Regions from separate parts of the Homo sapiens genome. Here regions 2 and 3 are each linked to region 1. The links are contacts of gene promoters, found by promoter capture Hi-C in human tissues and cell types (Jung and others, 2019). All regions are on one chromosome and are shown on one strand. Each heading gives the region's core, a stretch centred on a gene start or on the middle of the fragment in contact. The rest is flanking DNA. Distances are from core to core; before and after follow the strand shown. Region 1 holds the start of COPS8 (COP9 signalosome subunit 8). Region 2 has its middle 16 kb from the start of ACKR3. Region 3 overlaps COL6A3 (collagen type VI alpha 3 chain).

Evidence for each region. The method cuts DNA at HindIII sites, captures the fragments that hold promoters and counts their contacts. A contact is called where the count stands out against the background at its distance.
Region 2: a fragment that was not itself captured here is called in contact with the fragment with the promoter of COPS8 in region 1 in 1 of the 25 tissues and cell types used here (mesendoderm cells).
Region 3: a fragment that was not itself captured here is called in contact with the fragment with the promoter of COPS8 in region 1 in 1 of the 25 tissues and cell types used here (bladder).

The regions. Positions count from the first base shown.
Region 1 is chr2:237,083,513-237,087,138 of GRCh38, forward strand. COPS8 (COP9 signalosome subunit 8) reads left to right here and starts at 2,377. Exons shown (of 8, transcript NM_006710.5): 1 at 2,377-2,530; 2 at 3,615-3,626. The coding sequence starts at 2,453. COPS8-DT (COPS8 divergent transcript) reads right to left here and starts at 2,309. Exons shown (of 3, transcript NR_187934.1): 1 at 644-2,309. RefSeq lists enhancers at 1,423-2,317, 1,958-2,507, 2,318-3,212. The HindIII fragment of the contact is 6,775 bases long and covers 1-3,586 here.
Region 2 is chr2:236,583,756-236,587,381 of GRCh38, forward strand. No RefSeq gene overlaps it. Among named protein-coding and RNA genes, the nearest start is that of ACKR3, 16 kb to the left of the region's middle. The HindIII fragment of the contact is 3,951 bases long and covers 1-3,626 here.
Region 3 is chr2:237,402,994-237,406,619 of GRCh38, forward strand. The region is part of intron 1 of COL6A3 (collagen type VI alpha 3 chain); the gene reads right to left. Among named protein-coding and RNA genes, the nearest start is that of COL6A3, 9.4 kb to the right of the region's middle. The HindIII fragment of the contact is 6,379 bases long and covers 1-3,626 here.

The DNA of each region.
Region 1 (3,626 bases), core at 1,127-3,626:
GCTTTATTACTCCAAGATCTCTCTAGTTCTGCTAACTACTTATGTGCCCTTCTATTTAATGTTGGCAGTTCCTTGAGGAACACACAAGTGTTTTTTTTTTTCTTTACATTTCATTCAGGGAATTACTAAACAATCATTTCCACACAGAGATGTTGTGGATTACGCCAAAAAAAAAAAAAAAATCAAGGATGGCTGTCTCTGTCTTGAAATGCTTAATAATTTTATCTGTAAACTTGTGGTTTGTAAGTGAGGTCCATTAAGACAATGGAGCATGAGCCAGGGAAACGGGCCTCTACGTGTGGCCACTGATGTTCCATACAGCATTCATAATGCACCATGCACACTGAATTCCCTGTGGACCCCTGATGTTGCGAGGCCAGCAAGACTCAAAGTGAGCACAAGGTACTCGTGCTGTATCTACAACTGAGGGAGCTGGGTGCTGACACCCCAAAAGGCCGCACTTTTCCCCTTAAGAGAGTAAACTTGTTTCGAAGGCAGAAAGAAGGCAATGGTGTCTTAAGAAGCATGAAGAAACCATATTGTATGAGTCATGGTTCTCTAGAGGGACAGAACTAATAGGATATATATATTTATATATATATATATAGAGAGAGAGAGAGGAGTTTATTAAGTATTAACTCACATGATCACAAGTCCCACAATGGGCAGTCTTCAAGCTGAGGAACAAGGAGAGCCAGTCCAAGTCCCAAACTGAAGAACTTGGAGTCTGATGTTCGAGGGCAGGAAGCATCCAGCGTGGGAGAAAGATGTAGGCTGGCAGGCTAGGCCAGTCTCTCTTTTCGCATTTTTCTGTCTGCTTTACATTTCTAGCTGCACTGGCATCTGATTAGATGGTGTCCATCTAGATTAACAGTGGGTCGAACTTTCCCAGCCCACTGACTCAAATGTTAATCTCCTTTGGCAACACCCTCACAGACACACCCAGGATCAATACTTTGCATCCTTCAATCCAATCAAGTTGACAGTCAGTATTAACCATCACTCATATCATATATTTTCTTATTCATGCACTTCTTTATATTAGACACCTGATCATGCCAAAAGGCCAGTCCATAGTTCTTTTGCTTTTCAGTCCTTCCTTACGCATCGGTGAGTCCCAGGTCGAGAGTAGAGGTAGAATTCGTGCACGTAAAGTGCGATGAAAACGGGCAAGTTCACTTTGTGCAGCATCTGTTTTTACCAGCGTGGTTCTGGTAAAAACAAAATCTATATGCATGTATAAGCTATGAAGTACAAATTGCATAATTTCTGTGATTCCACATATGAGATCAGTGCACTTATATTAGTATTTAAAACTGGCATTGCACAACGTAAAGATGGATGGTGAACTTCATGCTAACAATTTAAATCTAAATTTTTCTTGGAATGATATTAAATAACACATAAAAACACTATGAAAAGAGAGAAACTGAGAGGAAAGAGAAAGTTTTATATTTTATGACCTCAGAGGCACTTTCTTTCTGTTTTTTGAACAAGGAAGCTCCGCACTTTTCTCTGAGCTCCACAAATTATGCAGCCAGCCTTGCAGCAGGCAACACATCAAAGCCTCTTTCCTGGGGGTCTAGTGAGGGATGTAAAACACAAATATGTTAATAATATACAATATAATGTCACTAACAGTAAGTGCTGTGCTAAACAAAAGCCAGGATGGCTACAGCAAGCCGGAGGGGAGCTGAGAATTAGATGTAAATTCTGAGGGATGGGAAGGGCCCTAGATTTTAGGGCGTTGTGCAGAAGAGTAACCAGATCTGCTCTACGTTTCAGGAAAGGAAAAAAAAATTCCCTCTGGCTGCGGTTCCGAGAATAGCCTGGAAGGAGGCAGGGGTCCCGGCTGGAGAAGCGTGGCTCCGGGGTGGGGCGTGCAGGGCTAGCCCGGGCGGGGGACGCTGCCCAACAAGCAGGTTTGCGGAGACTCACACCTTAGATTCTGAGTTTTTAAGCTTGTTTCCTCAGAGCAGGGAACTCACGAACGTTTCGTGAGCACCTACGGTATGCAGGGTACGGTGCGGAGCCCTAGCGTCACTGACGACCGGGACAGCCGAGCAGCTGCAGGATCCGTCGTGTTCCCCAGCAATTTTAATATTTAAAAATTCGTTACTGTTGCTGTTACTTGTTTTCTATGTATTGGATGTCTTCGTGAAGAACCCTCAAAAGTGCAACGAACTCCTCCCTGCCAGAGGGCGGCCGCGCGCTCTGAGTACAGCTTCCCGCGGAGCCGGCCAGGTCCTCCAGGGCACCGAGAAAGCCGGCCAGAACGGCGGCGCCCTATCCCGGCCGCAGCGATGTCTGACGGCGCCCCGGAACTGACGGTCTGGTACGCAGGGGCGCTCGGCGGCAACGGCGGCTTTAAACGTCATCGCGGGCGCGACGCCTGAGGGACAGTCTGGGGTTTGGCTGTCCGGACGGTGCAGCGGCGAGGCCGGCCGCGAAGATGCCAGTGGCGGTGATGGCGGAAAGCGCCTTTAGTTTCAAAAAGTTGCTGGATCAGTGCGAGAACCAGGAGCTCGAGGTAACCCTTTGCGTCGCGCTGGGAGAAACTGCGGAGTAGTCTTAGGCCCTGGGGCGGCACCAGTTTCCAGGGTAACGGGGTCTGAGGCTAGCGGGCTTTGGGAGCTCACGGGGCGGGCGTGGGAGGTGGACGTGTGGATCCCTGACCGCCGCAACCTGCTCCGACCGGGCCCGGTCTCCCCGAACTCGCCGGGACCTTTTTGTTATGTGTCTTCAGCTTGTGAGCCCGAAAACCCTGTGCGTCTTTGCTCCAGCACCTACCGATGAGCTCATATTAATTAGGCATCTTTCCTTCCCAGTATCGGGTTGGGAGAGGGTAGTAAAGTGGGTTTTATTAAAGATCTTGGTATACACACACACACTAACACACACACCGCAACTCACACGCACACCAAGAAAAATGTGACCATTGTAACCTTTTTTTAACTCACAAAGCCTTTCTCGTAATGTTGTCAAGTTAGCTTGCCATTTTGTCTTCAGTAAGACAGATGAAAGTTATGCAGCTGTTAAAGTTAATGTTTTTCTTAGACACTTAAAAAGGGTTTATATCATTAGTTTTAAAATTAAATAAAGGAGACAACATCCAGAAGCAGCAGCTCACTAATAGATAATAGATACTTTCCAGTTGAGTTAAAATGGAAAGAATTGTCTTTGCAACGCAGCTGTGGTGATTTTCTGTCTCTTATTCAGGACGCTTGATGTAATGGGCAGAATCAGAATGCTTCAGGAATCTGTCGAATTTGTTTCTTATAATAGTAAGATCATTTAAATGGGAATTTGAGAACTGGGGAAGGGGATCCACTTACATATTCTTGAATGTATAAAGAAACTGAAGCCCAAAGGGAGATAAATCAAAGCTGATGACGAATATAAACTTAATACTCAGAATTTTCGTGTTTGATACTTCTCTAAGCTGTTTCTAAATCTATAATAGGACTATAAGATTACTTATAGTCTTAGACTAAAAAGGCTTACTTTTAAAATTAGCATTTATAAAATATTATTTTAAAAATGAAAGTTAAAGGGTAAATGAGGTTTTTAAAATTTTGTGTTGTTTTGTTTTGTTTTCATTTTTGGCCTTCTAGGCCCCTGGAGGA
Region 2 (3,626 bases), core at 470-2,969, 500 kb before region 1:
CTTACCCTAGAATTTCAGTAGGTTCCCGGGGGCTAACAGTGCTGGGGTGGGTGAGGGTCTTTCAGGCTTGTGTGTCTACGTGGATGTCTGAGAGGACCTGTCGATCCTTCTGCAGGGCTCCTCTGCCACCCCAGTTCATGTGGCTCTTGCTGCTGCTTTTGCCTCGCTGGATGGTGAGACTGGTCTGGCCCTTTTCTGTTTTTCTGCTGTTCTGCAGCCTGGGGGCTGCCCCAGCTGCCTCCTCCCACACTGCAGTGGAGGGGGTGGGGAGGGAGGGTGACACTGAACTGGACCCGGACTCACCAGGTGGCACCTTTTGCTTTGGGGGGATTTTCCATCTCCCACAGGGCCCAGGGCACCGTGGCCTACTGTCCCAGACCCTCCGACGTCCCTGGGGTCTGCTGTCTGCAGGGGCAGGCTCCATCTCGGGAATGCTCCAGTGACTGTGTTCTTTCTGTTCCTTCTAGAAATCCCCTTCTTTGTCCTGCCTGGGGCTGGAAGACTTGCTGGTTTATTCCTAGTTATCTGGACTCAAAATCTCTTTCCTTTGATTTCCACTGCAGGGTCCTTCCCTGGAGCCAGGTGGGATAACAGAGGCTGGGTCAAGGGACACAGAGTGTCCTGAGGGGAGGGGAGTTAATACTGAAAAAAAAAAAAAAATCAGCCCCACCCTATGACTGTGGTGTAGAAGAGGCAGAGAGAATCCTGAGCTGTATTTGGATATGGGGTGGGCCTTGAAGGGAGGAGGGGTGGACAGGAGACCCCTGGCTCTCCTCAAATCCAGGGACTAGAGGGCCTGCAGTGCTGCCATTGGAGGGTCATTCTTTGGCGTCCTTTTCTCTGTACAGATCTTCCAAGACACCCGCCTCCTGATGTGGTAAGAAAGCTGTTAGCGCCATGACCTTGGACCCCAGGAAGGATGTCTGGAGCCCCAGGCACAGGGTGGGACCTCAGAGTTGGGAGAAAAGCAGCTTTGGCTTTCTTGATGGCGCTTCCTGGAGCCTCCTCCCATCCCAGGCTCTAATACTCTGCTCCTGTTTCATGGTTGAAATGCCCAAGGCATGGCGGGCGGTGGGCAGCGGAAGGCCACCCCCAGCAGCCCGGATGGCAGCCCGTCATCAGTGAGTCAGTGTTAAATGCTTTCCATCTGGTTCAACGTATGAGCTGCTGACCTTGATTGTACCCCAGGTTCCCCACAAGTGAAGAAGAAAAATAATGCCGCTGAAAAGCCCAGATGGAAAATCATCTGAGCACAAGGGAATACGATCTATTTGCTGGCTGATGGCTTTTGGTCCTTCCAAGAGTCTCGCAGCAACCTGGGATGGGACCCCACTGATATCTGTGGTCAGATCTGGGCAGAGCAGCAATACATTTTAAATCTTCTGTAGCCGATGCTTCCTGGGGCCTCTCCAGGAGGCAGCAGCTCCGGGGCATGGTCTATTTTATTAGGAATGTGGAAATTCTGCCTTACTGGGCTTCTACTCTGAGGATATTGGCTGTATATATGTAATGGATCTGGGAGACATCACATTTAGGTAAGCACAGGTGTCTCAGAACTCTGGGGAAAAGTGGCGTGCTGTGGATCTGTACTGTTGGGATGGATGGCTGAGGAAGACAGCAGAGAAAGTTCCCAGAGCTTTCTCCTGGAGGTATGAGCTTTTGCCCCTAAGTGCCAGGGATACCTCTGCATGGGCCTATGCCACTGAGATTTTAGTCCTTCAGGGGCAGTGGTTTCAGGTGGGCTAAATGCTTTAAAAGATCGACCCACCGCTATAGAACATTTCCCACTTCCTGTTTCTTAGTCTTGGATTTCCCAGGAAAAGCTCCCTGGTGGTTTGCATTTATGCAGGGACTGCTAAGATCCCACAGTCTCGATATCAATGACATTTGATATGGAACACGATTAGTTTGAATGAGGTTTGATAGGACATTAAACCACTCGAAAGTGGTTGAGATTTATGGTGGTTCGTTTGCCCTGAGGATGGCTGAGGACGGCCTGACTCTTCCATAAACTCTTCTGGCAGAGTAGCAGAGTTTGCTCACCTCGTGCAGTCTCTGACGCTCACACAGACCTGTGCATACACCTAGACTTGCTACCATCTGTGTGACCAACACACACTCCTGGACACAGTTTCCATGTGCATGTTTAGGACCATCCTAGCGAGAGCCTGGGCCACAGGGTTGAGATCCGCCTTCTCAAAGTCTCAGGCCTCTGCCAAGTGTGTAGCCCAAAGAACCATCACTGTTTACTATCCTGGGGAATGTGGGCCAGGTTTTAGCTTTGCTAAACTTAGCTTCCTTGTTTATAATGTTGGACGATGATAGTACTTGATTCATAGGGTAATCGTAATGATCAGATCGCACAGTCTCTGCAAAATGCATGTCACGGTGCCTGGGGCACACATAGTACATGCTCAGAGAACAACAGCCATTCTGACCACTTTCTCTGGGCATAATTTGCATTTTTCTTGAGAAGAAACAATGCATTTCAGAGAAATCGGGCAAGAGAATATCTGCCTGTGGGTGGTGAGTGAAAAGATGAGGCACATCTGTCTCAAACTCATTCTAACTGGGGACAATTTGCACCCCCAGGAGACATTTGTCAATGTCCAGAGATATCTTTAGTTGTCCCAACTTGGGGTGGGGAATGCTAATGTCATCTTGTGAGTCAAGGCCAAGAATGCTGCTGAACAGCCAGTTGTGCACAGGAGAGCCCCCAGACAGAGAATTACTGATATGGCTTGACGGTGTCCCCACCCAAATCTTATCTTGAACTCTAGCTCCCATAATTCCCACATGTTGTGGGAGGGACCTGGTGGGAGATAACTTGAGGCAGCTGGTAGAAAAGCAGCTTTGGCTTTCTTGATGGCGTTTCCTGGAGCCTCCTCCCAATCATGAGGGCAGTTTCCCCCGTACTGTTCTTGTGGTAGTGAATAAGTCTCATGAGATCTGATGGTTTTATATGGGGTTTCCCTTTTCACTTGGCTCTCCTTCTCTCTTGCCGGCCACCATGTAAGACATGCCTTTCACCTTCCACCATGATTGTGAGGCCTCCCCTGACATGTGGAGCTGTGAGTTCATGAAACCTCTTTTTCTTTATAAATTAGTCTCCGGTATGTGTTTATCAGCAGTGTGAAAACAGACTAACACAATTACTGAGTCCCAAATGTCAACTGAGTGGAGGTGGAGAGACCCTGGCCTAGGATAAAGCCAACCATTAAGACACAAGACTTCTGGATGCCATTCACTGCCTAGGGAGTTCACTGAGGGTACACAGAGCACCTGGGGAAAAGCATCTGAGTCCTTAGAGCCATGGCTTCTCCATTTCCTGCCCCTCAACTCAGCAGAACCCTAACAGGCCAGGGCAGCACAGACAATCATGCAATGTGGATTCACGCCAGCATCTCCACTGTGCCCAAATATGTTTCAACTACAGGAATTTGGGGCATTTGCCATTTACATAAAAGATGTACTCCTGAAATAGGAACACACAAATTAAACATTAGTAGACATTTTAAGTACCCTTGGGAAGCTTTAAATTGTAATTTAAGATTTAAAGTATTTTGCCTAAAAAGCTCCAGAAAGAACACGGTTAGCAGGACAGAGCTGTGGACAGGACTGCATGA
Region 3 (3,626 bases), core at 367-2,866, 320 kb after region 1:
TCTGTCCGGCTGATGAGTGATGTAACTTTGCCATGAATGGAGCAGCAGACTAGTGTCCAGATGGACCACTTAGCAAAGGTACAGGGAGAGCCACAGAGAGTGATTGAGGCTGCCAGTCAAGGACAGGAGCTAAGTGGGTGCAAAGGAAACCTGAAGCTCAGTCCCGTGGATTTGCCGTGAAATTCCTCCTGCCTGAGGTCAGGCCCAGAGGGAGAAGCTGGAGTCCAAATCTTGCGGCCCAGCTATGAGGAAGACGGAACACAGTGTGGGCCCTAGGCCTGACCCGCCAAAAATTGGTGAGATGGAGACAGATGAAGCCACAAACAAGGGAATGAACACCAGGACCCATGTGGCTTTGGATTTCCAAAGAAAGTCAACAAAAAGTACCACCTGTGATGAAACAAATGTACCCTGTGATTCAGATTCTGAGAACTTGAAGCCATGATCTCAGCAGCTAAAATAGAACCACCTGTCAATACAGCAGTCTCTTGGAAATGCATCAACAGTGAGAAAGGAATGCTGTTCTAATGATGCTCAGGAGGCCAGTTATCAACAGAACAGATATTTTTCTGCAACAAAGTGACAGCAATGAGTGGTGATAGCGGCAGTATTGCAAAAGCTCAGCCCGATTTTTTTTCCCTTGCAATGGTCACTGCCTTTTGGACATGGATATATGTTAACACAATGTAGAAGAGCAGTCTCCAGTGCTTGTGCTGTGGTTTGATAATGCTCCCAAGCTTTAGCCCGGTCGCAGCACAGCAGGGCTCAGGGACCCCCGACAGGCTGGACTGCCTGTTCTCCTCCCTCCACTTAGGTTGACCCTACCCCCACCGTGCCACAGCCCCAACTTTGCCCCTTCACTCTCTAGGAATCCCTCAAGCCCATGCAACCCTGGGAACCTTCCAGACTTTTCCACCAAGCTCTACCTTTCTTCCCTACAGTCTGTTAGACCCATTCCTGAGTGTTTCTTCAAATAAAAAAAAAAAGCAATTGCAATATCTAATTTTTTGTATGACCTCAATTAAATAATGATATACACTTCAGAATAATATAAAAGTACATTTTATATGTGCTATTCTTGATTCGTTCTATCAAGCTTGAGCGTCAATTTTTTTTTAGCAAAGGTAAGCTTCCTGCTAGATTCTTTCTAAGAAAATGGCCTGTTCTTTCCAAAACAACCTGTATTATTGTAACTGGTCCAGATCAATGTTTTAATACGGGATCAACAGATTCAAAGAGTCTATGATCCTCCCACAGTTGAGTGCAAAATTGCATCTATGGATGAGGGTTTTTCTGGAGATAAGGGTCCATGTTTGTATGTGATTCTAAAAGGCAGTTGTGCCACTCCTCACCCCCCAAAAGTTTAAGCATCACTGCTTCAATTAAAAATTTTAATGCAAATCTTCTGGAAGATCCAGTTCGATTACTTTAAATGTTTAATCCATGTTCAAGAGGCATGATTTTAAGTGGTATTTTTGTTTGTGAATGAGAACACAAGAGTATTATAGAGGCTCTTTGTAAAGCATTCGGCTTTGTAATCCAGGTGGAAAAAATAGGACATGATAAGATGAGAGCTGTCTCCTCACTGTTGAGTCTGGGATGGGAAGAGCTGCAGACACCTGTGCAGGGAGCATTGACAAAGAGCACAAGTGAATTATGCCTTGAGCAGGTTTTGCTAATGGTTTTCTTAATCATTCCCATACCTCACACAGTGAAAGCCTTTGAATCCACTGATTCTGTCACATATAAAGCATTGAGTGGGCTCACTCTGGAGCAATTCCAAAATTACATTTCTCATCTTCCAGAGTGCTCAATACAATCTAAATAGTTACAAAATAAAATCCGGGAAGTCTAAGACATCACTCACTTACTTCAACCATTCTGAGTAAAATGAACTTTTAGTTCATTGAAAATCATATGTAAAGATTTTTATTTTCAAGATGTGAATCTTTGGAGGAGTAGCCCCCTCAGTGGAGATACTTCCCATTGGAACACAAAGTAATGGGATAAATACACTGTGCACAGGAATTATTTTATCCAGAATATATCCAGATATTGAGGGAAGAGGAGGGGAGGGAAGAGAAGGAAAGGAGCCCTTCCAGCTCTGAAAAGGACGGGAGATAATGCCTGTAGGACAATGCGTTATCCAGGCTCCACTGATGATTCAGAACCCATATGGTTTGACTGAGCTGAATTCCCAGGTGGGAAAAACGCCTTTGGCCCCACACACTTTCCTGCCATCATGCGGGAAGCAGGTCTTGTGGCTCGTGGGCTCCTAGCCCAGCTGTTGAATATTTGCTGATATTTTCGTTTGCAATTAACTCTCTTCTATTGTTTGTCATGTCCTGGAGTCTCCATTTATAAAAAAACGAAATTCCCTGGCAGCAAATTTTGGAGAACTTTTTCATTTAGATTATTAAAAGATGTCAAACACCATCTCACCAGATGACCACCCGCCCTCTTCAACAAGAGGGAATGAGGCAGCCATCCGCGCTCATTCCCCGACACCACCCTCCCGGAGGAAGGAGAGAGGAGAGTGCTGGTAACGTTTCCTGGGCTTCTGTCTTGTGGGTGGGATTTCACGCCCTCCTCCCAACCATCCGATGGCTGATTTCCCTCCATTTTATAGCTGAGAAATTGAAACCCCAGCAAGGCAAAGTGATTGTTCAAAGCTACATAGATAAAAACAACATAGAACCAGAACCCTAACCCAAGTTAGCATTTCCAAAGCTCATGGGAAGAACCCCGGGAAACCCTAGAGGCTGTGCCAGATTTGGCCCAGATCTCAAGGAAACTCCCCATGCCTTTTGGGGAAAAAATAGACTTCCTTGGTGGTGACACACCACAGATTCTATGTCAATGGAAGTCGGCTGTCTACTATCATTCTTTCAAATATGAAAAAAAGACTCAGAATTGGCTGCTTGAGATCCTTGGGCTGGAAGGGGTCTGTTCCTTCATCCTAGATTCTGTGTCCTAAAGGAAACAGATTCAATAAGAGACATTCATCACATTTTCATTCTCATCTTTCTGTTTAGGATTATTCATCTTTTTGTTTACTCTGCCTCATTCTAAAAAGGATTTGAGGTGCCTTTTTCCGTTTAGTTTCTATCCCTTTGAAATTTAAAAGGATACCTTTCATCAGAAAGATTGCCCTACATGGCCCTTCAACCTGAAATCATATTCAATCATATTCCAATGAATATGATTTCCCAAGCTATTTTGCAATTCTGTAAATTAGTTTTCATTTAGCCTACTCAAAACCTTTTTCATTTTCCATGTCTGGAAATCTTTTTTAAGAAAGAGACACACACGCATGCACACAAGGAAATAGTTTGAAAACAAAGACTCAAATAAATCCAGAGCTTCCATTTTGAAGTCATTTATTTGGTTTTCTCCAAGCACTGCTTTTTAAAATCAGCCTGTCCCTCCTATCAAGTTCTGGGACTTCTGTTAGTTCCTAATTGTCCTGTTTAAAATGGGAGCAGTGGAAATAGTCAAAGACCACAGTGGGAGAGCCGTGCACACTGACTGTGAAATAGAAAGTCAAATTTCAGTAAATTTGAGGCACTCATCCACCCTTGCCTTTGCCACGCCCATTCCTAGACTGCAAGAAGGAGCGCCCCATT